Regions from separate parts of the Homo sapiens genome. Here all the other regions are linked to region 5. Evidence: promoter capture Hi-C in human tissues and cell types (Jung and others, 2019). All regions are on one chromosome and are shown on one strand. The core of a region is centred on a gene start or on the middle of the fragment in contact, and the rest is flanking DNA. Distances in the headings are between cores, read along the strand shown. Region 1 overlaps LINC00905 (long intergenic non-protein coding RNA 905). Region 2 holds the start of LINC00661 (long intergenic non-protein coding RNA 661). Region 3 overlaps RAB8A (RAB8A, member RAS oncogene family). Region 4 has its middle 3.5 kb from the start of LINC01855. Region 5 holds the start of CYP4F3 (cytochrome P450 family 4 subfamily F member 3). Region 6 overlaps TPM4 (tropomyosin 4).

Evidence for each region. The method cuts DNA at HindIII sites, captures the fragments that hold promoters and counts their contacts. A contact is called where the count stands out against the background at its distance.
Region 1: a contact is called between a fragment that was not itself captured here and the fragment with the promoter of CYP4F3 in region 5, in 2 of the 25 tissues and cell types used here (dorsolateral prefrontal cortex and mesendoderm cells).
Region 2: a contact is called between a fragment that was not itself captured here and the fragment with the promoter of CYP4F3 in region 5, in 1 of the 25 tissues and cell types used here (lymphoblastoid cells).
Region 3: a fragment that was not itself captured here is called in contact with the fragment with the promoter of CYP4F3 in region 5 in 2 of the 25 tissues and cell types used here (dorsolateral prefrontal cortex and spleen).
Region 4: a contact is called between a fragment that was not itself captured here and the fragment with the promoter of CYP4F3 in region 5, in 2 of the 25 tissues and cell types used here (lymphoblastoid cells and spleen).
Region 6: a fragment that was not itself captured here is called in contact with the fragment with the promoter of CYP4F3 in region 5 in 2 of the 25 tissues and cell types used here (dorsolateral prefrontal cortex and spleen).

Annotation. Positions count from the first base shown.
Region 1 is chr19:16,041,112-16,045,715 of GRCh38, reverse strand. It overlaps LINC00905 (long intergenic non-protein coding RNA 905), which reads right to left. Exons shown (of 5, transcript NR_024335.2): 5 at 3,581-4,277. Among named protein-coding and RNA genes, the nearest start is that of LINC00905, 9.7 kb to the right of the region's middle. The HindIII fragment of the contact is 8,864 bases long and covers 1-4,604 here.
Region 2 is chr19:16,013,208-16,017,439 of GRCh38, reverse strand. It overlaps LINC00661 (long intergenic non-protein coding RNA 661), which reads right to left and starts at 1,806. Exons shown (of 9, transcript NR_026828.1): 1 at 1,651-1,806. LOC105372291 (a long non-coding RNA gene) reads left to right here and starts at 2,384. Exons shown (of 2, transcript XR_936355.1): 1 at 2,384-2,469; 2 at 3,055-3,304. The HindIII fragment of the contact is 6,740 bases long and covers 1-4,232 here.
Region 3 is chr19:16,123,482-16,127,510 of GRCh38, reverse strand. It overlaps RAB8A (RAB8A, member RAS oncogene family), which reads right to left. Exons shown (of 8, transcript NM_005370.5): 4 at 1,964-2,041; 5 at 1-74. HSH2D-AS1 (HSH2D and RAB8A antisense RNA 1) reads left to right here. Exons shown (of 2, transcript NR_199156.1): 2 at 524-4,029. Among named protein-coding and RNA genes, the nearest start is that of RAB8A, 14 kb to the right of the region's middle. The HindIII fragment of the contact is 7,709 bases long and covers 1-4,029 here.
Region 4 is chr19:16,060,051-16,064,229 of GRCh38, reverse strand. No RefSeq gene overlaps it. Among named protein-coding and RNA genes, the nearest start is that of LINC01855, 3.5 kb to the left of the region's middle. The HindIII fragment of the contact is 9,039 bases long and covers 1-4,179 here.
Region 5 is chr19:15,639,432-15,643,719 of GRCh38, reverse strand. It overlaps CYP4F3 (cytochrome P450 family 4 subfamily F member 3), which reads right to left and starts at 2,823. Exons shown (of 13, transcript NM_000896.3): 1 at 2,775-2,823; 2 at 2,107-2,305. The coding sequence starts at 2,304. The HindIII fragment of the contact is 9,363 bases long and covers 393-4,288 here.
Region 6 is chr19:16,086,295-16,090,408 of GRCh38, reverse strand. It overlaps TPM4 (tropomyosin 4), which reads right to left. Exons shown (of 8, transcript NM_003290.3): 3 at 3,869-3,986; 4 at 2,312-2,382; 5 at 1,289-1,364. Among named protein-coding and RNA genes, the nearest start is that of TPM4, 12 kb to the right of the region's middle. RefSeq lists an enhancer at 3,872-3,921. The HindIII fragment of the contact is 7,259 bases long and covers 1-4,114 here.

The DNA of each region.
Region 1 (4,604 bases), core at 1,511-4,010, 400 kb before region 5:
CCATTCTCCTGCCTTTCAGCCTCCCGAGTAGCTGGGACTACAGGCACCTGCCACCATGCCTGGCTAATTTTTTGTATTTTTAGTAGAGACAGGGTTTCACCATGCTAGCCAGGATGGTCTTGATCTCCTGACCTCGTGATCTGCTTGCCTCGGCCTCCCAAAGTACTGGGATTAGGCATGAGCCACTGCACCCGGCTGAGACTTCTATTTTTCTATTTAAGTATTTCTATAAGTGTTGAGTCTTCTCTCAGGTTCTATTGAACTAACAGAATTATAATTAAAAGCAAAGTCCTAGTTCTCATAATACTGTCTGAGGTTTTGTTTGTTTGTTTGTTTTGGACAGAGTCTCTCGCTCTGTCCCTCAGGCTGGAGTGCAGTGGCTTGACCTTGGCTCACTGCAACCTCTGCCTTTTGGGCTCAAGCAATCCTCCCACCTCATCCTCCTGAGTAGCTGGGATTAGAGGTGTGCACCTCCATGCCTGGCTAATTTTTGTATGTTTTGTAGAGATAGGGTTTCGCCATGTTGCCCAGGCTGGTCTCCAACTCCTGGGCTCAAGCGATCTGCCCACCTTGGCCTCTCAAAGTGCTGGGATGACGGGCATGAGCTACTGTGTCTGGCCAGAACTTTATTTCTGTATATTGCTGAGTAATATTCCATTGTCCCGGACGGACACTTGGATTGTTACTACCTTTTGACTAGCGTGAATAGAGCTGCTATGATGTCAGTGTACAAATATCTATTTGCGGTCCTGTTTTCAGTTCTTTTGGGTATATCTCTAGGAGCGGAATTGCGGGGGCATGTGGGAGTTCTATATTTAGCTTTTTGAGAAACTGCCAGATTATTTTCCATAGTGGCTGCACCATTTTGCATTCCCACCAGCAATGCACAAGGATTCCAATTTCTCCACATACTTGCTGACATTTGTAGTTATATTTTTGCTTATAGCCACCTCAGGGAGTGTGAAGTGTGAAGTCTTTCTCTCTCTTTTTTTTTTTTTTGAGATAGTCTCACTCTGTCATCCAGGCTGGAGTGCAGTGGCGTGATCTCAGCTCACTACCTCCGCCTCCTGGGTTCAAGGGATTCTCCTGCCTCAGCCTCCTGGGTAGCTGGGATTACAGGCATCAGCCACCACTCCCCACTAATTTTTGTATTTTTAGTAGAGACAGGGTTTTGCCATGTTGGTCAGGCTGGTCTCAAACTCCTGACCTCAAGTGATCCTCCTGCCTTCACCTCCCAAAGTGCTGGGATTACATGCCTGGCCTCATTTTGGTTTTGATTTGCATTTATCTGATGGCTAATCATGTTGAACATCTTTTCATGTTCCAACATTAAAAATTTTTTTTTCTTTTTTTTGTAGAGATAGGGTCTCACTATGTGTGTTACTCAGGCTGGTCTCAAACTCCTGGTCTCAATGGATCCTCCTGCCTTGGCCTCCCAAGGCACTGGGGTTACAGTTGTGGGCCATTGTGTAACAGTTTTGTACAGGCATATTGATTTAAAAACTAAATATTGCACCACCAGAGTAGTGTGAACACTATAAAACATGTTTTCCAAACTGAAATTAACAGGGGAAGCTATTAGCATATAATAAACTCTTGGGTGTGTCATACCATCTTAATACTGATACTAAGAATAGCCAGTACTTTGATGCATGCCTTGGGGCAAAATTCATGGTTAAGGGTCGTGGATGGGTCCCTCACAACCTGGCTCCACTTGTCCTTGCCAGTCTCCTCTGTAGTCATTTCCCACTCCCTACTGTATCCTGAAACCAGGTTTTCTTGAGCTGCAGGGCCTTTGCCTCTGCAGTTTCCTCTGCTTGGAATGTCCCTGTTCCTACAGACGATTCCTCATACCCTGCTTTCCATACCAAGCCCAAGCACCTTCTATGGGACATATTCCTGTCACTACTCCCCATTTCCGGGCCCTTGCTCTGGCCCATCCCTAAACATCCATTCACCCATTCATCTCTCCATCCCTCCTTTCATCCCTTTATCCATCTACCCATCCCTCCATTCCTTCATTCATCCATCCATCCACCCAGTCATTCATCCCTTTATCCCTCCCTTCATCCCTTCATCCATTCATCCATCTACCCATTCATCATCCATCCCTCCATCCACTCATTTATTCATCCATCCTCTGCCCATTCATCCCTCCATCCCTTCATCCATCCACCCATCCATCCCTCCATCCCTCCCTCCATCCATTCATCCATCTACCCATTCATCCATCCCTCCCTCCATTCCTCCATCCATCCACCCATCCATCTACCCATTCATCCCTTCATCCCTCCATCCATTCGTTTATTCATCCATCCTCCACCCATTCATCCATCCATCCATCCATCCATCCACCCACCCATCCACCCCTCCTTTCCTCCCTCCCTCCATTCATCCATCTACCCATTCATCCCTTCATCCCTCCATCCATTCGTTTATTCATCTATCCTCCACCCATTCATCCCTCCATCCCTTCATCCATCCACCCATCCATCCCTCCATCCCTCCCTGCATCCATTCATCCATCTACCCATTCATCCATCCATCCCTCCATTCCTCCATTCATCCATCCATCCATCCATCCATCCATCCATCCATCCATCCACTCATTCATCCTTCCATCCCTTCATCCATCCACCCATCCAACCATTCATCCCGGCCTCTCTCCTTCCCTCCCTCCCTTCCTTCATTGAACACACAGGCCAGTGATGTCTGTGTCTGGCTCTGTGCTCCAACCCCCAGAGAGGAGCCTCTCAAGAGTAGGGTTTTGGGTTGAGCTTTCTCTACTGCCCCGACACGGCTCAGCACAGGGCTGTTGTTGAATGTGCCTGATTTTGCAGGATGACTTTGTGAGCCAGTATTCATATTTTTGCAATGAGGTCATATGTATTTTGAGTGGCATGGGAAGGCCCTACAAGGACAAGCCTATCATGCTTATGCACCTGTGTTCATTCATTCATTCATTCATTCATTCATTCATTCATTCATTCATTCGTTATTGAGCCCTTAGGATGTTCCAGGTGAAGACAAACAGTATCTTGTCCCTTGGGACCAGGGAAGGTTTTCCTGAAGTGGTAACACTGAGCTAAAATATGAAGGATGAATGGGAGGTGAATTGGCTGATGTGGGAAGGGAAGGGTGATGGAGGCCAAAGGGAACAGCATAGGTGAAGGCAGAGGGCTGTATGGCACATCCCTGGGTACCTGCACTCGTGGAGGACTTGTTTAATATCAAACATTAAAAGGCACTCACATTGAATGTATTTCTTCCTGTTAAAACAAGAAGAAGCTGGGTGCGGTGGCTAACACTTATAATCCCAGCACTTTGGGAGGCCGAGGCAGGAGGATCACTTGAGCCCAGGAGTTTGAGACCAGCCCTGGCAACATAGTGAGACCCTGACTCTAAAAAAATAAAAAAAATTAGTCGGGCGTGGTGGTGTGCATCCTCGCAGCTACTTGGGAGGCTGAAGTGGGAAGACGGTTTGAGTCCAGGAATTTGAGGCTGCAGTGAGCTGTGATTGCGCCACTGCACTCCAGCCTGGGCAACAGAGCAAGACCCTGATACACACACACACAAAGTTAAAAAAGTAGAAAGGATCGTTATCTTTTTGCTTTTGAAGTTATTGGGGTCCCATTAAACTCATATGCTTCTTGGGCATGTACAGGCATTCTTGCCAACAGAGAACATCTAACCCACAAAAACTTTCCAACGTGATGACACCGTGGGGGGGATTCTGGAGCCAACAGTGAATCCAGGTGGCACTATGTCTAGCTAAGTAGACATTTCCTTCAAGCGTTCATTGATTTTGATTTTGCAGCCTTGCTTTTACGTTGTCAAATATCAAAGTGTGTGGTTTTACAGTTTTTTTTTCCTTCCAGGTCTTTAACGTTTTCGGGGACCTCTGGAAAACCTACAGGCGCGGCCCTGGGAAGCTCTGGGTCCCTAGGAGGGGAGGTGACTCCGCGGCGTCCCGGGAATGATCCTCGCGGAGCTCGCGAGGTACTAGCGCCCCCCAGCGTCTGGATTGAGAAACGCACCCTGCGAGGGTGGAGAACCAGCCCAGCCCCAAAGTGAGGTGGCAGAAAAACGAACTCACGGCCAAGGACTGGCTGAGGTTAGCCAGAATTGTGTAAATGTGTTTTGTCTTGCTGGGCTGCCCCCTCTCCTGGTCCTTTGGCTAGGGAGAACAGGATTTTGTTTGGGATTTTTCTTTTGCTTTTTTCGACTGTGCCTGTTGGCGTTCGCGGGTTGCCAGCTTCTTCAGGTCCAAGCCTGGGCTGTATGTGGCGAAAAACAAAACAAAACACCAAAGAATTGACTTTCGTGTCATTCCTTGGGTCCTGAAATTCCCACTGTGTCTGCCTTCCCTCCATCATTCAGAGTCTTACATTTTTCTAGTTTGATCCAATTTCCCAATCACTTTTTATTTTGACAAAGTTGTAAATATGATGCATAGAACATGTTTTGACATAGGCGTACAGCGTAAAATATCTAAATCAAGCTAATTTAACATTTCCTTGACATACCCGTGACCATACCTCCATGCTTATCTCTTTTTCTGTGGTAAGAACACTTAAAATTTGCTCAGCAATTCAGTTTTTTTA
Region 2 (4,232 bases), core at 1,598-4,097, 370 kb before region 5:
ATGGCACAGGCCAGGGCTGAGAGCATGGCCCAGGGCCACGTCTGGGTCTCTGGGCCAGTTACTGCCCCTCTGACCTCAGGCGTCTCACCTATTCAGTGGGTACATTTGAGGAAAGCACCCCTCCACCCCGCCATGGAGTCGCCGTGAGGATGAAGGAGACGACTGTTTGCATGGTCAGCATAGAACGGGCACCCGGTGAGTGCTCATGGATGACCCTCCTCGGGTAGCTGCCACCCACCTGGTTGTGACTGTCCCCAAGTCAGCAGGGGGGAAGAGAGCAGGTCACGCTTTCCTGAGTCTGATCAGGCAGCGGTGCTGAGATGTGCTTCTCACCCAGAAAAGGGTCCTTTCTGCACAACCACTTACAGCACCTCTGTGTCTCCAACTGCTCCATGACACGGAGGTAGGCTGGCGGCACTTGGCACAGTGACAGCATGGGTTCACAGCCTCTGTCATGACGGGGCCCTACCTGGCTCAGCAGGGCCCAGGGTCAGCGTCCTCTGCCCGCTTAATGGTCAACATGTATGCGTGCAATTTGTCTGTGTATGTGAGGATGCATGTGTGTGGGTGAACACGTCTCTCCTCCAGCTGGGCCTGGCTGCTCCACTCAGGTGTGCACCTGGATCCCTGTCACTGTCACCCCCGGGCCTGTGGCCAGCATCAGAGCACCCATAGGTGCTCCTCAGCCTCTGCTCTTTCCATGCTGGGTGGTCCTGGGGATGCAGATGGGGCAGGGACATAGGGCAAAGGGCAGAGGGCAGAGGGCAGAGGGCAGAAGCCAGGCTTCCCCCTTGGGGTGACTCGCGTAGTGTGTAAAGTGCCAGGTCTGTGTGGCAGGGCTGGATTCAATGCAATGCACCCTCTCACCTCCTCCTCCCAGAAGCCCACTGGGGTGCTGTGACTCACCCCCCACCCCATGGATGGAGGCAATCACGGAGGCTTCGAGGACTAACCCGTGGCCTGAGATCACCCAGGATCCCACTGGCCAGGCTTCCAATGGTTAAGCTCCCACTGAACAGGTCCTAGCTGACCACCCCCACAATGACCAGGTCCCACTGACCAGATGTGGACTGACCAGGTCCTGCTGACTGGGCCCCACAGACCAGGCCCTGGCTCATCAGACACCACTGACAAAGGCCACAATAACAAGGCTGCAACTGACAAGGCCCTCACGGCCCTCACTGACTAGGTCCCAACTGATGGACCCCACCAAATAGATCTCACTAATCAGACCCCCGCTGACCAGGCCCTAACAACTGCTGGACCCCTGCTGGCCAGGCCCCAAATGCTGAACCCCACTCACCAGGCCCCAAAAGCTGAACCCCACTGACTGGGCCCCAAATGCTGGATCCCTGCTGACAGGCCCCAACTATGGGATCCCCACCAACCAGGCGCCAACTGTCAGACCCCTGCCAACCAGGCCCCGGACGCTGGACTCCACTGACCATGTCCCAGCTACTGGACCCCCACTGACCAGGCCCCAACAACTGCTGGACTGCACTGATCAAGCCCAAACTGCCAGACCCCACTGACTGGGCCCCAACTCCTAGACCCCTCCTGACTGAGCCCCAACTGCCAGACCCTTGCCAACCAGGCCTCTTCTTATGAGACCCCTGCTGACCAGACCCCAACTGCTGGGCCCCTGCTTACCAGGCCCCCACATCCACACCTCACTGACTAGGCCTCACTGCTCTGATCCCCGCCGATCAGGCCCCAAATGCCGGGCCCAGATGACCAGGCCTCAACTGCTAGACGGCCCACCAACCAGGCCTCAGCTCCTGGACCCCTGTTGACCAGGCCCCAACTGCCAGACCCCAATGACCAGGCCCCAACTGCCAGAGCCCTGCTGACCAGGTTCCAACTGCTGGATCCCCTTTGACCAGGCCCCAACTGTTGGACCCCCGACAACCAGGTCCCAACTGCCTGATTCCGCCAACCAGGCCCCAACTGGTAGACCCCTGCTGACCAGGTCCCAACTGCGAGACCCATGCAGATGAAGGCCCAGCGTCCAGACCTCACTGCCTAGACCGCACTGATCTGATCCTCACTGACCAGGCCCCAACCGCCAGACCCCACCTACCAGGTCCCAGCTGCTGCATCCCTGCCAAATAACCCCCAGCTGCCGTATCCCCTCTGACCAGGCCCCAACTGCTGGACCCCCTCCAAACAGGCCCCAACTATAAGACCCCGCTGACCAGGCCCCAACTGCCAGACCCCCATGGACGAGGCTGCAACTGCCAGATCTCTGCTCACCAGGCCCCAACTGTGGGACCCCCGCTGGCCAGACCCCAACCATGAGACCCTCGCCAAACACGCCCCAACTACTGGACTCTTGCTGGCCAGGCCCCAACCCCCAGGGCCTAGTCAGTCAGTGAGACCTGACTAGGTCTCACTGATCAGATCCCCGCTGACCTTGCCCCAGCTGCAGACCCCTATTGACTGTGGGCGGAGGATTACCCAGGTGCCGAGGTGAGAGACTGAAGACACAAACTGTTTCAGTATAATAAAGAAAATAGTTAGAATAAGAATAGTCATAATACAAATTAGATATAGAGATGATCATGGACAATTATCAATCATTATTATAAACATTATTAATCATTAGCTTTTAATATTACTCTTTGTTGCGTTACTAACATAACCTAGGAATAACTGGCGGGTAGAGGGTCAGGTGCTGAAGGGACATTGTTAGAAGTGACCTAGAAGGCAAGAGGTGAGCCCTCTGTCAACGCGTGCATAAGGGCAGCTTGAGGGCTCCTTGGTCAAGCGGTAACGCCAGTGTCTGGGAAGGCGCCCGTTACTTAGCAGACTGCGAAAGGGAGTCTCCTTTCCTTGGAGGAGTCAGGGAACACTGCTCCACCAGCTTCTTGTGGAAGGCTGGATATTATCTAGGCCTGCCGCAGTCATCCGGAGGCCTAAACCCCTCCTTGTGGTGCTGTGCTCCAATGGTCACTTTCATGTTCCTCCCGTACTCCTGGTTCCTCTTTGAAATTTGTAGTAGATAGCGGTAGAAGGAATAGTGAAAGTCTTACAGTCTTTGATCTTTCTTGTAAGTGCATAGAAGAAAACGCTGACGTATGCTGCCTTCTCTCTCTCTGCTTCGGCTACCTAAGAGGGAAGGGCCCCCTGTGCTGTGATCACGTGACTTGCTTCACCTTGTCAATCACTTAGAAGATTCACCCTCCTGACCCTACGCCCCTTGTCTTGTATGCAATAAATATCAGTGTGCCCAGCCATTCAGGGCCACTACTGGTCTCCGCGTCTTGATGGTAGTGGTCCCTCGGGCCCAGCTGTTTTCTCTTTATCTCTTGGTCTTGTGTCTTTATTTCTTACGCTCTCTCGTCTCTGCACACGGGGAGAACACCCGCTAAGTCCCGTAGGGCTGGACCCTCCAATCAACCAGGTCCCAACTGCTGGACCCCACTGACCAGGCCCCAGGAACTGCCGGCCGCCTGCTGACCAGGCCCCACTGGTCCGATCCCCACTGAGCAGTCCCCTGCTGATCAAACCCCACTGACCAGATTTTCCATGACCTGACCCTCATTGAATGGATCCCGTTAAGCCGACCACAATGACCATGTCCTCACTGACCAACACCCCCGTGAGTAGGCCCCCCCACTGACTAGGCTTCTGATGACCAGGCCCACACTGCCAGGGCCCCACTGACCAGACCACATGACATGGCCCCACAGACCAGGCCCCACTGACCCAAACCACTGACTGGTCCCAACTGGCCAGGAGCTCAATGACAAGGTCACTGCCAACAGTGCCCCTTACAACCAGGCCTCCACTGACCAGGGCCCCACTGAGTAGGCCCCACTGGGGAGTCCTTCGGTGGCACCGCATTAGCTGACCACACCCCTGACAACCAGGTCTCTGCTGACATGGTCCCCACAGAACACGTCCCCATTGACCAGGTCCCAAATAACCAAATCCCATGGACCGGGATCTGCTGACTAGGCCACACTGACATGCTTCCAATGGTGAGACCTTCGCTGACTGAGCAGGACCACACCGCCAGGCCTCAGCTGACTAGACCACAATGACGAGGTTTCCACTGACCAGGTGCTAACCGCCCAACCCCTACTAACGAGGCTCTACTTTTCAGATCCCGCTGACCAGACCCCCAGTGACCAGGCCCCTACTGAACAAAATACCACTCCCTACACCCCCACTGACTAGGTTTTTTGTTGTTTGTTTTTGAGATGGAGGCTGCCTCTGTCACCCATGTT
Region 3 (4,029 bases), core at 622-3,121, 480 kb before region 5:
TTGGAAACTTGTCTCTTGTCATTCACATCACACTTGTTCCCGAGTATCATCTTTTCGACGTCTGCAGAGGCGTGCTGAGAGGGAGGGGGACAGACGGGGGATCAGACCGGATGACACAGGCCAGGTGCCTCTGCCAACACACAGTCTGTCCCCAGAAATCAGAGCGGTGGGGTCAGGACTGCTAGGTACAGCCTGGTCTAAGGGACAAGCTGAAGCTCAGAGAGGCCAAGCAGCCGGCCCCATGTCACACAGCCAATGCCAGGGCTGGGGCCAGGGTTCTAGCTGCTACTCTGAGCAAATGCACATTTTCTGAAATGCTTTCTGGCAGCTTCTATGGCTGTATCAATCAAGCCCCCGCACCTGGGATGCTGGGCGGGTCTAGCCTATGGGAGGTGAGTGAGGCTGAGATATTTACCCCCCGACCTTGGCTTTCCTCCTTCCCTCCCTGGCTCCTCTGCAAGAGGCCCCAGCTGTTGTCCTGGGACCTTCTGCTTTGACACTTTTTTTTTTGTTTTTTTTTGAGATGGAGTCTCGTTCTGTCTCCCAGGCTGGAGTGTAGTGGCATGATCTCGGCTCACTGCAACCTCTGCCTTCAGGTTCAAGCGATCCTCAACCTCCCGAATAGCTGAGATTACAGGCATCTGCCACCATACCAGGCTAATTTTTTGTATTTTTAGTAGAGACAGAGTTTCGCCATGTTGGCTAGGCTGGTCTCAAACTTCTGACCTCAGGTGATCTGCCCGCCTCAGCCTCCCAAACTGCTGGGATTACAGGCATAAGCCACCTCGCCTGGCCCTGACATTTCAACTATTTTTGGGCTCCAGAAACAGGCCGTGCCTGAGGTGGTCGCAACTCGAGGCCGTCACCAGCTGCAGGCACTTCACCACCCTGTCTGATGTTGCCCAAACTCTGCCCTCATACCCAAAGGCAGCTCCTTCGTCAAGTCTCCCTGGGTCCCCATGGAGCGGACCACGCTTCCTGGAGGACGGGGACACTGGAAACTGCTGTCTTCTTCCACCAGCTCAGACTTGGTCTCTGGAACCTACTGCGCCACTCCCTGCCTCACTTCCCATGAACCAGAAGGTGGCTCCTGCCCGCTGGCCAGAAACAGAGACCTTTCACAAAGACCAGGCTCTCCTCCTCTCCACGGATGAAGACAGCTTTCCCAGCTGGGGTGCAGCCCTGCACTGGCAAATTTGGCAGCACAGCCCTCTCAGGGTCACTGGGGAGGTGAGCCCAGTGCAATGACTCACAAATGATGGGGTGGCCTCTCGGCCTGGCCTGGGAGGTCCATGAGTCCTGGGTGGACAGTGATATGCCCTTTTGCTGTGGTTTTATAGATGGGAAAAGTTCTCTGGCTGTGCCTCAGACCTGAAGCCCCACATGGTTAGTTATAGAAAGCTGCAGGTGCCGGCAGCCAGGAAGGCTTTGGGGGTGAGGTCAGCTCTTTGGGGAGCAGAAGATGAAGATGCTGGCTTTGGGAGGGGAGGAGGGGTTGGCCTACTTCTCACTGCTCTATGGTTCAAGGTCTGAACACAGGTCGTTTGTACCAGGTCACACCCTGCTCCGATATAGCTCAAAGTACAACTGACGCCTGCTCACCACACCCTCCAACTACAAGGGTCACACCTGTGCTAGACCCTTCCTTCTCTAGAAAGCACCCAACACTCATGGTGACCACAAGCTTGGATATCCTTTCTCTTATAACCATGACACTGGCCAGATCCAACAGCCTAGCTGGAGGGATGGGCTCCGAGGGGCTCCGGGGTGGGGCCAGGCCAGTGTGTGGTCCCTGGGGCCGGCTGCTTGCATCTCAGTCCCTGCTCCCACCATGTCCCTGACTAGGAGGCTGTGGGCAAGTGGCCTGTATGTGTCTCTGCACCTTGGCCTTCTCATGAGTAAACCAGAGGGCTCTGGGACAAGGACTGAAGCAGGGACAGTGGGAGGAGCCGGAGGGCCTCACCTCCTCAATGTTGCGAATCCAGTTCCGGATGTTGTCGAAGGACTTCTCGTTGGTGATGTCGTAGACCAGCATGATGCCCTGCGCGGGGAGAGAAGACACAGGTGCCTGATCGGCTGCAGGCTCTGGAAGGGAGGCCTCAGCGGCACCAGAGAACAGTGGTGGGGAGCCCAGCACCCACTGCACAGCCAGGCCCATTAGCTGCCGCCCTCCCCACCTCTGTGGAGCCCCGGAAGCCAGCCCCCTCCTCTCCATCCCTGTGGCCCTTCTTTCTGCTGGGTTCTGGCACCAGCCTTGTCCTGCCCCCCGGGCCGCTGAGGTGACCCTTCTGCCTCACAGGCCAGCCCCTGCCACGCACTCGCTGACAAGCCCGGCTGGCTCCCCTCATGGCCCACGGGGTGGTGCAGCCTGACGGTGGGAGCCGGTCCACAGGCCCACTGCCAGCAGCACTCCCCTCACGCTGACCCTCCCCTGCAATCGGCCTCCTCTTCACCCCTTGCTCACCCCACGCTCTGCCTGAGCCACCTACCAGGCACAACTGAGCCCAGGAAGTCCTGACCCGACATCCACACAACTTCCAGTGACCCCACCACAGAGGGAACCGGCTGTGTGAAGATGGAGCCGAGAGTGCCAAGGCCCTTCCAGTTCCCTAACCTAGACGTGAGCAACTGGGAGACGGCTCGTGGGTCCTGGAAGAGCTTCGGGGCAGCCCCGCCTCAGCCTGGGTCCACAGCCTCGCTACTGCTGTGGACAAGCGCAAACATGCCCATGCGATGCAAGGGGAAACTGAGGCACAGAGACGTGACCTTTAAGATTCAAGCACGGGGGGCGGGGGGGGGCTAACTCCAAAAGCACTGATGACACCTATCCTCTCAGCAATATCCCTGGGCCTTTTTCAGCCCCAGAACCCACATGTGGGGGCCACCCTCTGACGGTCTGTGTGGTTCTCGATGTCCTTGTGGAGTGCCCACAGCGGGCCAGCCTGCAGTGCCATCACAAGTCCCCCTTTGTTGCCGGGCATCCTGGGCTCCAAGGCACGTGGCCTGCTCATGGCCAGGCCTGGATTTCTTCCTTCCTCCTCGCTACCTGCTCCCCAGGCCCAGCCCTGCATCTGTGGCACCTGAGGGCACTGATGACTTCTGCTGCTGGCCAAGTTGTCTGGGGCCATCCAAGTTTGCAGAATAAGGACACGGGCCATGTGGTAATGGTGAGACAGATGTGGGTGCAAGAGTGTGGGACAAAAACGACACAGATGGGGCAAGAAAGTCACTGCAACCCCAAATCCTCCTGGGAATTCAGGGACATGAATAATGGCCTCACAGTCAGCCGCAACCATGGCGAAGAACCTCAAGGCTGCAGTGGCCCATGATGTCTGCCATGCCCCATCCACGGTGGGCACACCCTGTGACTGTGACATGGTCAGGGACAGGGGGCGTGGGGCCCTTTATCCGGGGACTGGACCCTCTGAAAGCCCAGGATTCCTGCCTTCACCACTAAGTTGGTGACATGTGCCTAAGACTCAAATTCCTGGATTATACCTATTTCAGGGAGCTGAGGGGAGAACCTGGACGTTAGTGGGGCAGTGGGTAGAGCTCTCTCTTAGAATCAAGCAGAAGCACCTGGAAAACACTGAGCCAGCCATCCTATTCCAGGTTTTCCTGGAAACACCCCTCAGGGCTCCAAGTGACTATTTTCCAGGGCCCCGTCTGGGCAAACCTCACCATGGGTCTCTAGGCATCCAATGCTTCCCAAACTTGGGATTTTGAGGCCCAAGGGTCTATGAGCATGCTGACAGAGATGAGGACACAGCTGCAATGGTGGTGCTGTCCCATATGACTGATACTGGCTACACAAGGCTCTAGGGCATCAGAAACATAGCTGCTTTGACCCAAGGAGCTGGATTTTCAATGTTTTTTAAAATTAATTAATTAATTAAGTAGTTAAGCGACGGATACTTGCTCTGCTGCCCAGACTGGAGTGCAGTGGTGCAACCTCGGCTCACCGCAACCTCCGGCTCCCAGGTTTAAGCGATTCTCCTGCCTCACCCTCCTGAGTAGCTGGGATTACAG
Region 4 (4,179 bases), core at 869-3,368, 420 kb before region 5:
TTCCCTCCTGCACTACAACCTCTCCAACTGGGGGCTTCTAAGGACAGGATGGGGGAAAGAGAACAGCCCATCAGCATCCCAGCCACCTCCCAGTCATGAGACCCAGAGTCATTTATCAAGCATCTACTACCATGTGCGTGTTTTTGGAACACTGTGGTGGACATGACTCATCCCAGTGGGGCAAGACAACCAATAACTGCAATTATGGAATGAATTACAATAGGGCAAATGACTGTCTTTTGATACAAAAGTTCAAGGAGGTCAGGCAAAATGGCTCACGCCTGTAATCCCAGCACTTTGGGAGGCTGAGGTGGAAGGATCACTTGAGGTCAGGAGTTTGAGGCCAGCCTGGGCAGCATAGCAAGACCCCATCTCTACAAAAGATACAAAAACTAGCTGGGCATGGTGGTCTGTGCCTGTCGTCCCAGCTACTCAGGAGAATAAGGTAGTTGAATCACTTGGGCCCTGGAGTTTGAGGCTGCAGTGAGCTTCTTTTTTTCTTTCTTTCTTTTCTTTTCTTTCTTTCTTTCTTTCTTTCTTTCTTTCTTTCTTTCTTTCTTTCTTTCTCTTTCTTTCTTCCTTTCTTCCTTTCCTTCCTTCCTTCTTTCTTTCTTTCTTTCTTTCTTTCTTTCTTTCTTTCTTTCTTTCTTTCTTTCTCTTTCTTTCTTTCTTTCTTTCTTTCTTTCTTTCTTTCTTTCTTTCTTTCTTTCTTTCTTTCCTTCCTTCCTTCCTTCCTTCCTTCCTTCCTTCTTTCTTTCTTTCTTTCCTTCTTTCCTTCTTTCCTTCTTTCCTTTCTTTCCTTCTTTCCTTCTTTTCTTTCTTTCTCGAGACAAGGTCTCACTCTGTTGCCCAGGCTGGAGTGCAGTGGCACAATCGTGGCTCACTACAGCCTAGATCCCCCAGCTTCAATTGATCCTCCCACCTCAGCCCGCTGAGTAGCTAGGACTACGGGCATGTGCCACTATGCCTGGATACTTTTTTGTTTTTGTAGAGGTGGCGTCTTGCTATGTTGCCCAGGCTGGTCTTGAACTCCTGGGTTCAAGTGATCTTCCTGCCTTGGCCTCCCAAACTATTGGGATTACAGGCATGAGCCCCTGTGCCTGGCCTGCCGTGAGCTATTATTGCACCACTGCACTTCAGCCTGGGCATCAGATACCCCATCTCTTAAAAAATGCAAGGACAAATAGTTTATTTGGGAAGTGACCCAAGGAGATACAAGTAGAGGATGGGAAGTGAAATAGGGAAAAGAAAGTAACCATTAAGCATGCATTATGAAACCAGTTACTGCCATGGACAAATAGGGTGCAGTCCCACTGAGGGCCTCTGGAGGCAGCAGAGAGCATGCTCTTTGGAGTTGTCCCAGCTGAGGGGCGAAGGAGCTGGGGTATTTATCCACCAATTCCATGCTGCTGTTGATTGAAGGCTGCTCTTAGGGGCTGTTGATTGTGCTGATCTGCCCTTGTATGGGTCACACTCACTTCAGCAGCTGGAGGAAGACCGCCTCTCCCCCTAGCAGAGAGATGAAGCTGCTAGAAGTACCCCTTGGTGTGGAGAGAAACAGTAGGAACCCAGTGGATCTGGGCAGGCACCCAGAGTGTGAGCTAAATTTTTTTTTTTTTTTGAGATAGTCTTGCTCTGTCCTGCACTCCCAGGCTGGAGTGCAGTGGCACGATCTCGGCTCACTGCAACCTCCGCCTCCCAGGTTCAAGCAATTCTCGTGCCTCAGCCTCCCAAGTAGCTGGGATTACAGGCATGCACCACCACACCTGGCTACTTTTTGTATTTTTGCAAAGACAGGGTTTCACCATGTTGGCCAGGCTGGTCTCGAACTCCTGACCTCAGGTGGTCTGCCCACCTCGGCCTCCCAGAGTGCTGGGATTACAGGCATGAGTCACCACGCCCAGCCTAAAAATGTTAATGCATGCAAAATGCAGGCACCTGATTAGTCTTGGGTGGAAGTCAGGAAAAAGCCTCCCTGAGGAAGTGGCAATTGAGGGAGGCCTGAACGGTGGTGATGGGGTCTATGCGAAGGTCATAGGAGGAAGGGACTGAGGGCAGGTGAGAGTGTCTGCCGTTGAATGCAGAGGTGAGGATGTGGTGTGGTGTGGTGTGGTGGGTGGTGAGGCTGCAGAGATCAAACAACAGAAGAGAGGATGGGGACTGCCCCCAAATGTGTCTCCTGCAGTTTGAGACATGCAAAGAGACCAAGGCAACAGGTGAGTTTACTGAGTTCCAATAGAAAAGAGCAAAAATGTTCTCAGCTTGCACTCTATGGAGTTTCATTTCATGGGGTACAATAGAGTAATAAGATGACAAGGATGACAATAAAAATGACCCTGAAGCTGGGTGCAGTGGCTCACGCCTGTAGTCGCAGCACTTTGGGAGGCAAAGGTGGGAGAATTGCTTGAGCCCAGGAGTTCAAGATCATCCTGAGCAACAGAGCGATACCCCATCTCTACAAAAAATTTAAAAATTAGCTGGGTGTGGTGGCATGCATCTGTAGTCCCAGCTACTCCAGAGGCTGAGGCAGGAGGATCACTTGAGCCCAGGAGTTTGAGTCTGCAGTGAGCCATGCTGGTACCACTGCACTCCAGCCTGGGCAACAGAGTGAGACTCTATCTCTTAATAAAAAAAGAGTTTCTAGACCAGGTGTAGTGGCTCACACCTGTAATCCTGGTACTTTGAGAGGCCAAGGGGTTGGATCCCTTGAGGCTAGAAGTTCGAGACCAGCCTGGCCAACATGGTGACATCCCGTCCCTACTAAAAATACAAAAAAATTAGCCGGGCATAGGTGATGCACACCTGTAATCCCAGGTACTTGGGAAGCTGACAAGTATTGCTTGAACCCGGGAGGTAGAGGTTGCAATGAGCTGAGATTGCACCACTGCACTCCTGCCTGGGCTACAGAGCAAGATCCTGTTTAAAAAAAAAAAAAATTATCCGGGAAGGGGCAAACCATTGGTGGGGCGGGCAAGGAGAAAAGGGCTCTAAGTCCTCCCCAAAGTCTCTGAGCCACACTCCGAGGGAACTGTGTGGGTTAGAGAGCTTGGCCATTAATCCCGTAAAACAGGCATGACCACAAGCTTGGTGGCATCGTCACGATAATTAATAATAATTATAGTTAACACTGACATGTCTTTAATGTGTCCATGCTGTTCTACGTGCCTTGCACACATCAGCTCACTTAATTTTCACAATAACCTCGTGAGATAAGTGCTGCTGTCATTTCCATTTTATAAAAGGAGAAATTGAGGCACAGAGAGGTGAAGTAACTTGCTCAAGCCAGCACAGCTAAGAAGTGGTGGTGTTGGGAGTTGAACCAAGAGTGGCTGACTCCGGATTCTACACATTGACCCACAAACTATAACCTGAGCAGCCTCCCCTATTCAACCTCCTACCTGAGTTACCTTCATGGACAGCCACTGCCCATTAGGTGTCAATGGTGTCATTGGAGAACAATTCTCCACGGGTCTCTTGCATTTCTGTACACCCCAAAATCAGGGGCTCAGACAGCTTTTATTCCAGCTATCTTTTCAAGGATGTTTGTATAGCAAACAGCCTTGGAAGACAGAGTTTCTTCCTGTGAAGCAGAGGGCAGTTTCATTTGCTATCCATATAATAAAGATAATGTCTCCCTCTGGTATTAAAATAGACCAGGTTTGTTTGCAATCAACTATAAAAATCGAGATCTTTAAGCTCAGAGTTCCTTGGCTGTGGAACTAACCCAATGTGGGCTAGTGCAAACACAAAGTTCATGCTGCCTGCTGTGCCATGAGTAATAAAGTCCTTTGTCTCTGATACTGGAGTCTCGTGTCTTCTGCCCACATCCATAAAACTGTAGCAGGTTCAATTGTCCACTTGCAAGTAGGATAAGATCCCAGACTCTTCACAGTTCTTGACAACTACTTGTGTCTCTGGGATGACAACTGTCACCAAGGTGTTTCTCTTGGGATCCTAGATTTGGCCTGGTTAGGTCTCACTTTTACTGCTACCTTTCTTTTCTTTTCTTTTCTTTTTTTCTTAAAGAGACAGGGTCTCACTCTGTTGCCCAGGGTGGAGTTCAGTGATGCAATCATAGCTCATTGCAGCCTCCAACTCCTGGCTCAAGTGATCCTCCTGCCTCAGCCTCCCAAGTAGCTAGGACTGCAGGTGTGTGCCACCACACCTGGCTAATTTTTA
Region 5 (4,288 bases), core at 1,574-4,073:
TCTGTTGAGAGCCCAGGTAGCACAAAAATGCAGAGGAAAGGCTAATTTGCTCTGTTGTGGGGCTGGCACATCCATCTTCTCCTGCCCTTGGACACCAGAACTCCACCGTCTCAGGCCTTTGGACTCAGTTACACAACCAGTGTCTGTTTATCCAGCCTGCAGACAGCAGTCCATGACGCATCTCAGCTTCTATAATCCTGTGAGCCAATTCCCGAAATAAACTCCCTCTTCTATCTATCTATCTGTCTGTCTGCCTGTCTGTCTATCTATCTATCTATCTATCTATCTATCTATCTATCTATCTATCTATCTATTTACCTATATATATCTCTACATATCTACCTATCTATGTATCTATATATGTATGTATGTATGTATCTATCTGTCTATCTATCTATCTATCTAATCTATCTATCTACCTATGTTTCTATGTATCTATCCATCTATCTAATCCATCCATTCTATCTTATATATCTGTCTATCTATCCATTCATCTATCCTATCTGTGCATCCATTCATCCATCTAGCCTATTATCTATCTACCTACCTATCTATCTATTCATTTATCTATCTAATCTATTCATCCTATCTAACTTTTCTATCTATATATCTATCTGCCCATCCATCCATCCATCCATCCATCTTATCTGTACATTCATCCACTCATCCATTTATCCTATTATCTATCAATCATCTAGCTATCTATCCATCCATCTAATCTATCCATCCTACATATCCACTCTACCTATCTATCCACCTAATGTATCCATCTTATCTACTACTTTATGTATGTATTATCCATCCATCCATCCATCCATCCATCCATCCATCCATCTTATCCATGCATCCATCTGTCCATCCATCCATCTATCCTGTTATCTATCTATCTATCTGTCTATCTACCCACCTACTTATCCAGCCAGCCAGCCATCTATTCACCCTATCTGTGCATCCATCCATCCATCTATCCTATTACCTATCTATCTGTCTACATTCCTCCTGCTCTATCTCTCTTGGGGCCACCCCCAAGTCCCAAGAGCGCATCCCAAGGCAGAAGGAAAAGACACACTGTCCACTCACAGAGGCCCACTTAGCTTGAGAGGAAAAATTTCCTTGTTCTGGGAGTCATTTCAGCCCAGAGGTGGGCATATGAGGAGGTCCTCACAGGGGAGGTTTGTGGGGAGCAGTGTGGACTCAGGACATGTCCCTAAGGCTGGTCCCCACATCCCTTCATGCCCTGGCTGGTTCCTCCACCAGCCACACAGGTTCCAGTTCCTCCCATGGAGAAGGTTCTGCACACAGGGGACCTTCCCTTCTCAGCAGTCACTAGGGGAGCAGAGGTGACTCTAACTGTCCATCATGACAGTGGCTCCCACCTGGGAGAAGCTTCTGCACCAGGCTCTGTGCTAGTGCATCCTGTGCACCCTCCCACTTCACCTGTGGACACACCCATCAATCCTGCCATTTGCAATGAGCAGATTGAGACCACGTTCCGCAAAGGGGAGAGCAGGTCTAAGTCAGAGGGCAAGGTCTGGGGGAGGAGAAAGGTCAGGGAAGGCTTCTGAAAGGGGAAGTGAGTGGCCAACTTTTATGTGGGTTTGGCAACAGGACCCCATTGGGACATCTTACTGGGGAGGAACAAGATAAGAGGAAGGTGCCTCCGGATGTGGTGGAGGTGAGAGACAGCCCACACCTCTCCTCTGGCCCACCTATACCCTCATAAGAGGAAATAGGCCAGGTAGGGAGAGGACCCTGAACAGTGGGTACAGGAGGCCTCGAGTCCAGCAATGGAGAATGTGGGAACGCCAGGGGTTCACCTTTCTGTGCACCCAACCCCCTGCCCAAGAGCCCCGCAGAGGTGCATTAATGTGGAAAGACAGGCAGGAAAAGGATTCAACACAGGCCAAGAGTGGGAGAACAGGGAGGTGAGAAGGGCTTGGGTTGGCACCTCACAGAAATGAGTAAGCAGAGGAATGAGTAAGACGCCTCCCCTGCTTCTCTGCCACCCCAGACCCCAGCCCACCCCCTCTCACCTGAGCCTCATTCTTACCCCTCAGGAAGTCCATCCACCCTGAGACCCCAGACCCGTCCTGCTGCCACACTCACCAGGCCCAGGTGACCCAAGAACCAATTCCGTTTCGGGGGTTGCGGGAAACACCGGAGGCGGCAGCAGTTGTCATAGAAGGTATAGGTCCAGGCCAGGATGCGGGCCAGGAGCCAGGAGGCCCCAACCAGCAGCAGGAGCAGCCACGGGGATGCTGCCATTGGCCAAAGGCCCAGCGAGGACAGGCTCAGCTGTGGCATCCTGCAGGGCAGATGGGGTGGTGAGTGAGGTCCTGAGGCCCAGGGAAGGGCCCAGGGAGCTCCAGGGACAGTGGAGAGAGGCAGAGACGGGCAGTGCTGGAGATAGAACAGTAAGAGTAAACAGGGATGGATAAACAGGGGCTGAGGGGTAAAGTCCAGAAAGGCCCAGCCAAAACCAGCAACCAAGTGGCCTCCAGTTACCCGGTAAGCACTTAGATTGAGAAAGACAGAGAAACTGATTAAAGTCCAGAAAGGCCCAGCCTGAATCATTAGGACGTTGCCAGGGGCTTGGTTTCAGTTAGAAAACCACTCATCCTCCAAGCCAGCAACCAGGAGCTGCCTGGGCCTTGGGCAGCAATGGAGAATGTGGGAAGGCTGGGGCTCCCCTATGTGTGCGCCCAATCCCTTGCCCAGTGCCCATCTCCATCACAGGCTAGGATGCCCCAGGCCCACCACCCCCACCCTGGCACCTTCTGTCAGGAGCACCTTGTCCCACACAACCTCCTCTCCCCTTCTTCTGGGAGGTTTTTTCCCCTGGCCCCTGATGTAGGGAAGGCTGTGGGAGGCTAGGCTGGGCTGGGCTGGGCCAGCCAATCCCCACAGCCTGGGTGCCGCTCCCATGTCTGGGCAGCTGGCCAAAACCTGGGTGTGGGAGACCAGCTGGATGCAGAGGAACCAGCTCAGGGTGACACAGCACAGGCACTGGATCCTCAGGTCTCAGCACCTCCCACATAAGGTGGAGAGTAAGCCGAGAGGGGTCAGATAGAGTTTCCACTGTGTGACACCTGCTCTTAAAGAGCACCTACTGAGTGTGTGGCAGATAAAAGCATGAACTTGAGAGTTCAGGTGTCAAGCGAGCCAGGCCAGGCCAAGCCTTGTTCCAGATCATCTCCTGTGCTCCTCTCTAACCCTGGGCCGGTAGGACACCGTGTACCACTTCTGGATGCTGAATCAGGCAACCTGGAAGAGACAAGCCTCTATCCCCCTGCTGCTGGATGGAGTTCAAGTCTTGCCTCCAGGCAGTCCAGGGCCCTGTTGGAGACCTGACTGCTAGGAACGGGAACAAAGAATCCAGCCCCACTGAGGATTACCTGGGTCAGATTCTGGAGATTAAGAGCTCAGCTGGAAAAGCAAATCTGGAGGCCGGACTCAGTATAGGAGGACAGAGCGGGGACGTGGAGGGTTAGGATGAGAGGGAACGGATGGGGTCCAGGCAGGGGAAGGGCAGAGCCAGGGAACCATGAATGGAGTCCTCATTCTGCCTCATCCTTGCTCTGACTTTGGTCAGTACTGCCCCTCCTGGGTGCAGTCTTCCCATCTGGGAAATGGGATGTTCGATGAGGGCCTTAGCGGGGGACAATGAGGGCTCCTAAGAGGAGGGAGCCCCAAAAAGGAGTGAAGGGAAAGGGTGGCAACTAGCACTTGAGCTGCTGTGTGCCAGTCTCTACTCTGCACAAAGGCTGCATGGAAAGTACTTCTACTGTGTGCCAATACTCTAAATGAAGGGCAGCTACTGTGTGCCAGGTGCTAAATCCTGTCTACTCTGTGCCAAGTGCTTTCCATAAAGTGTGCCTACTGTGTGCCAGGTGCTCTACATTAACCCTGTATACTCAGTTCCTGATATTCCTCATAGAGTGCCTACTGTGTGCCACCTGCTCTACATAGTGAGTGCCTATTGAGTGCCACCCCCTGTATATGAAGAGTGCCCACTGAGCACCAGTTGCTGTCTACATAACACATGCCTACTGAGTGCCAAGTGCTCTACATAAACAGTGCCTACTGATACCACCTGCTCTATATGGTGACTTCCTACTGAGTGTTTCCTGATCTACATAAAGAGGGTCTATTGAGTGCTGCCTGCTCGAGTGTTGCCTGTGCTCCATAAAGTGTACCTACTGTGGGCTGCCTTCTGTACATAAAGGGTGCCTACTGAGTGCTGCTTGCTCTACATGAAGAGTTCCTACTCTTGCCTGCGCTACATAAA
Region 6 (4,114 bases), core at 1,204-3,703, 450 kb before region 5:
CGGTGGCCCACGCCTGTAATCCCAGCACTTTGGGAGGCTAAGGTGGGAGGATCACTTGAGGCCAGGAGTTTAAGACCAGCCTAGGCAACATAGACTGTGCTCTATAAAAAAAAAAAAAAAAATACAGTTTTGGAGTAGTGGCACATGCCTGCAAGTCCTAGCTACTCAGGAAGCTGAGGTGATAGGATTATTTAAGCCCAGGAGTTTGGGGCCTGCAGTGAGCTATGATCACGCCACTACACTTCCAGCCTAAGCAACAGAGCAAGATCTCATCTCTAGGCCAGGTGCAGTGGGTCATGCCTGTAATCCCAGCACTTTGGGAGGGCGAGGCGGGCAGATCACTTGAGATCAGGAGTTCGAGACCAGCCTGGCCAATGTGGTGAAACCTCATCTCTACCAAAAATTATAAAAATTAGCGTGTAATCGGGAGGCTGAGGTGGGAGAATTGCTTGAACTTGGGAGTCGAAGGCTGCAGTAAGCTGAGATCACGCCACTTCACTCCAGCCTGGGTGACAGAGTGAGACCCTGTCTCAAAAAAAAAGAAAAGAAAAAAAAAGGCTGAATAGGGGTTTATCAAGCAAAAGGAAAGCCACACCCAGTTGAGTGAATAGCAGGTGGTGGCTGAGGTGGGAGGATCGCTTGAGCCTGGGAGTTCAAGGCTGCAATGAACTATGATCATGCCACTGAATTCCAGCCTGGGCAACAGAGCGAAGCTCTGTCTCAAAAAAAAAAAAAAAAAAGTGGGGGGTGGAGGTGATGGGAGAACAAAGAATGTCTGTGAAACTGCAAAAGCAGGAGCAAGAATGAGGAAGAGGCTGGGAAATTCAGTGGGGTTCGGCCGTGGAAGTGTGTCCTTTGTTCCCGACGTAGCTGCCACGTAGCAACTGCTTTGGGTGCTGTTTCAAACTAAAAAGCCCAATTCCACCTCTGATCATTGCTATACCTTTGAGATGGTATTTCTGGAGGAACCAGGGGAATCAGGTGAGAGGCAGGCTCTGTATTTATTTATACAACTATGCTCAGATCTCGCTAAGAAGAGCCTCATGTTCTATCTCTATCCTCCTGAGATGGAGATCAAAGATGGTGCTCAGACCCCATGGAAGAGGACTCAAGAGTGTGCAGGAGAAATCCAGCTCTTTCTGTAGGGGAAAAACCCTGGCTGCCAGGCACCAACGCTACTGTTAAATAAAGGGCAGATTCCCCATAACCTGACAGGCTCCTGCATCCCTCGGGAGAAGAAAAGAACAAAGTCCAGCAAGCCACCCTCCAGCTCAAGCCAACCACCTACCTTTTCAGATGCAGCCTCCAGAGATTTCAGATTGTTAGTAACATTCTTGAGTTCTTCTTCCAGGTCACCACATTTTCTGCACAAAGACAAAGGATTTTTGTGTCTTATCTTCCCTTACAGCCGGCAATAATAGCAATCGCCCCAACAATAAATTTTCCAAAGGAGAAACCTACACAGCTCCCCCGGTGGGGGGCAGAAGGAATGTGGGGAGAAAATGTTAATGGATTTTTCTGCAGTGTGATACTATGGGCTTATCAAAGGCTTATCATACCAGGCAGAGGCGAGGTGCGCCCGAAGAGTATTTGGAGGGCTTGGAAAACACTCCTGGTCTTTTGCCAAGGGTAAGGCTGCAAGGACTTGTGAAATCTATGATTGATGAGGCCGACTCCGGAAGGTGTAAGAATGGGACTGAGGGCAGAAGGCGGGCAGAGAGCAATGGGAGTTTGCAGGGGACACTCCGGGAAGGAAGCCCGGAGTGGATTTGTGAAACCAGATCTCTCTCAGCACTCCCGGATGCTCTGTGGGGCTGAATTCCTCACCCGGGGCCAAGAGGACAGGTGTTTTGTTTTTCGGTGCTTGCTTGTGGGATTCTGGTTAAGCTTCTCACCTTCCCGCCAGGAATGTGTCACGGCCAAACACTGACAGGAGCAAAAGCATTTACATACTGACCGGGGGAGCCTGCCTTCTGGAGCAGGTCAGTGTTCTGTTAAGATGGCACAGCCCCCTGAGATATCCTCTCTGGGAAAATGGGACTTCTGGGCTTCCCTGCTGCCTCCTGTCTCACTCCTATTTCCTCATATCTTTGCAGAAAGGGTCAACACGTGGGCAGTGCTTCCCATGGCAGTAAGAACAAGTCACCACCTCTTTGTCACAGAAGCCAAGAGAAAAGATGAGCCATGAGCCCCTGACGCCCGTCCACTTGAGCAGAGACCCCGGTCAGAGCCAATTCCCAACACAGCCAGCTCCTTCCCACTCCGCCCCAGGAATCGAGCCAGCCTCGCTCAGTCCTGTTCTGCCACTCACAGTTCAGACACCTCCGCACGCTCCTCTGCCCTCTCCAGCTCACCCTCCAGGATGACCAGCTTACGAGCTACCTGCAGAGACAGAAAGGCCCAGCTGAGCCCGATCCCCACCAGCCGTGTCCTCTCCCATCCACTGCAGACAGCCCCCAATGATGCCCCACCCAGACCCCTAGACCAGCTGCAACATGGGTTTTTCTGGTGTTTCTTTTTTTTGCAGGGGGACGGAGTCTCCCTCTGTTGCCCAGGCTGGAGTGCAGTGGCACAGTCTCGGCTCACTGCAACCTCCACCTCCTGGGTTCAAGCGATTCTCCTGCCTCAGCCTTCCAAGTAGCTGGGACTACAGGCGCGTGCCACCACGCCCAGCTAATTTTTGTATTTTCAGTCGAGATGGGGTTTCACCGTAGTGGCCAGGCTGGTCTCGAATTCCTGACCTCCTGATCCACCTACCTCGGCCTCCCAGAGTGCTGGGATTATAGGCATGAGCCACCACACCTGGCCTCTTTTTTATTTTTTTATTCTTTTGAGACAGAGTCTCGCTCCATCACCCAGGCTGAAATGCAGTGGCTCAACCTTGACTCACTGCAACCTCTGCCTCCTGGGTTCAAGTGAATCTCCTGTCTCAGCCTTCCAAATAGCTGGGCTTACAGGCATGCACGACCATGCCCGGCTAATTTTTGTATTTTTTGTAGAGACAGGGTTTCACCACGTTGGCCAGGCTGGTCATGAACTCCTGACCTCAGGTGATCTGCCTGCCTTGGCCTCCCAAAGTGCTGGGATTACCGGCGTGAGCCACCATGCCCAGCCCTTTTATGTTTTTGACAGAGGGTCTTGCTCTGTCTCCAAGGCTGGAGTGCAGTGGCGTGGTCAGAGCTCACTGCAGCCTTGACTTCCCAGGTTCAAGCGATCCTCCTGCCTCAGCCTCCCAAGTAGCTGGGACTACAGGTGCATGCCACCACACCCAGCTAATTATTATTATTATTATTTTTAGAAATGGGGTCTCACTATGTTGCCCAGGCTGGTCTCAAACTCCTGGCCTCAGGTGATCCTCCCGCCTCGGTCGAAGTGCTGGGGTTACAGGTACGAGCCACCGCGCCTGGCCTTTTGCTGGCGCTTCAACTGAAAGAGCCATCCTGGGGCCTGGAGGAAATCCTGATTCTCTTCCTCAAGCCTGAGGAGCGAGGCAGACAAGAGGCGGGAGGGAAGAGCCGAGCCATCGAGGGAGGCAAAGGAGGGCCTGAGCTTGCATGGTCTGAAACTCCATGGCTTGGGACCACAATCCTCCATTTTTGCCCAACTGTGCCAAAACTCCCAGCTAACGACACAAGTGAGCTGATCATTCGGTTTTCCCATTACGTTAGACAAGCGTCCGCAGCACTTTCTGGCATCGTGGGAGATAGTTTCCTAGCCAAGTGGTTGTCTCTGGACAAACATATGTTCACGCAGGAGGACAGCTGACCTAACCGAGAGCTTCCTTTCGTTGGCCCCGGTGTCCTCCCTATCTCAGCAGATGCATTTCCTCCCACTTCCTGCTGCTGCGCCATCTGCCAGCCCCACTCACCTCCTCGTATTTGCGGTCAGCCTCTTCCGCAATGTGCTTGGCCTCTTTGAGCTGCATCTCCTGAATCTCCATCTTCTCCTCATCCTTCATGGCCCGGTTTTCTATCACCTTCATTCCTCTGCAAGGAGCAATCTCATCAGGACGGCCGTTCACTCACACCCCTCCACCCACCTCTCATCTATCTTTTCTTTCAGATGGAGTCTCGCTCTGTCATCCAGGCTGGAGTGCAGTGGCACGATCTCAGCT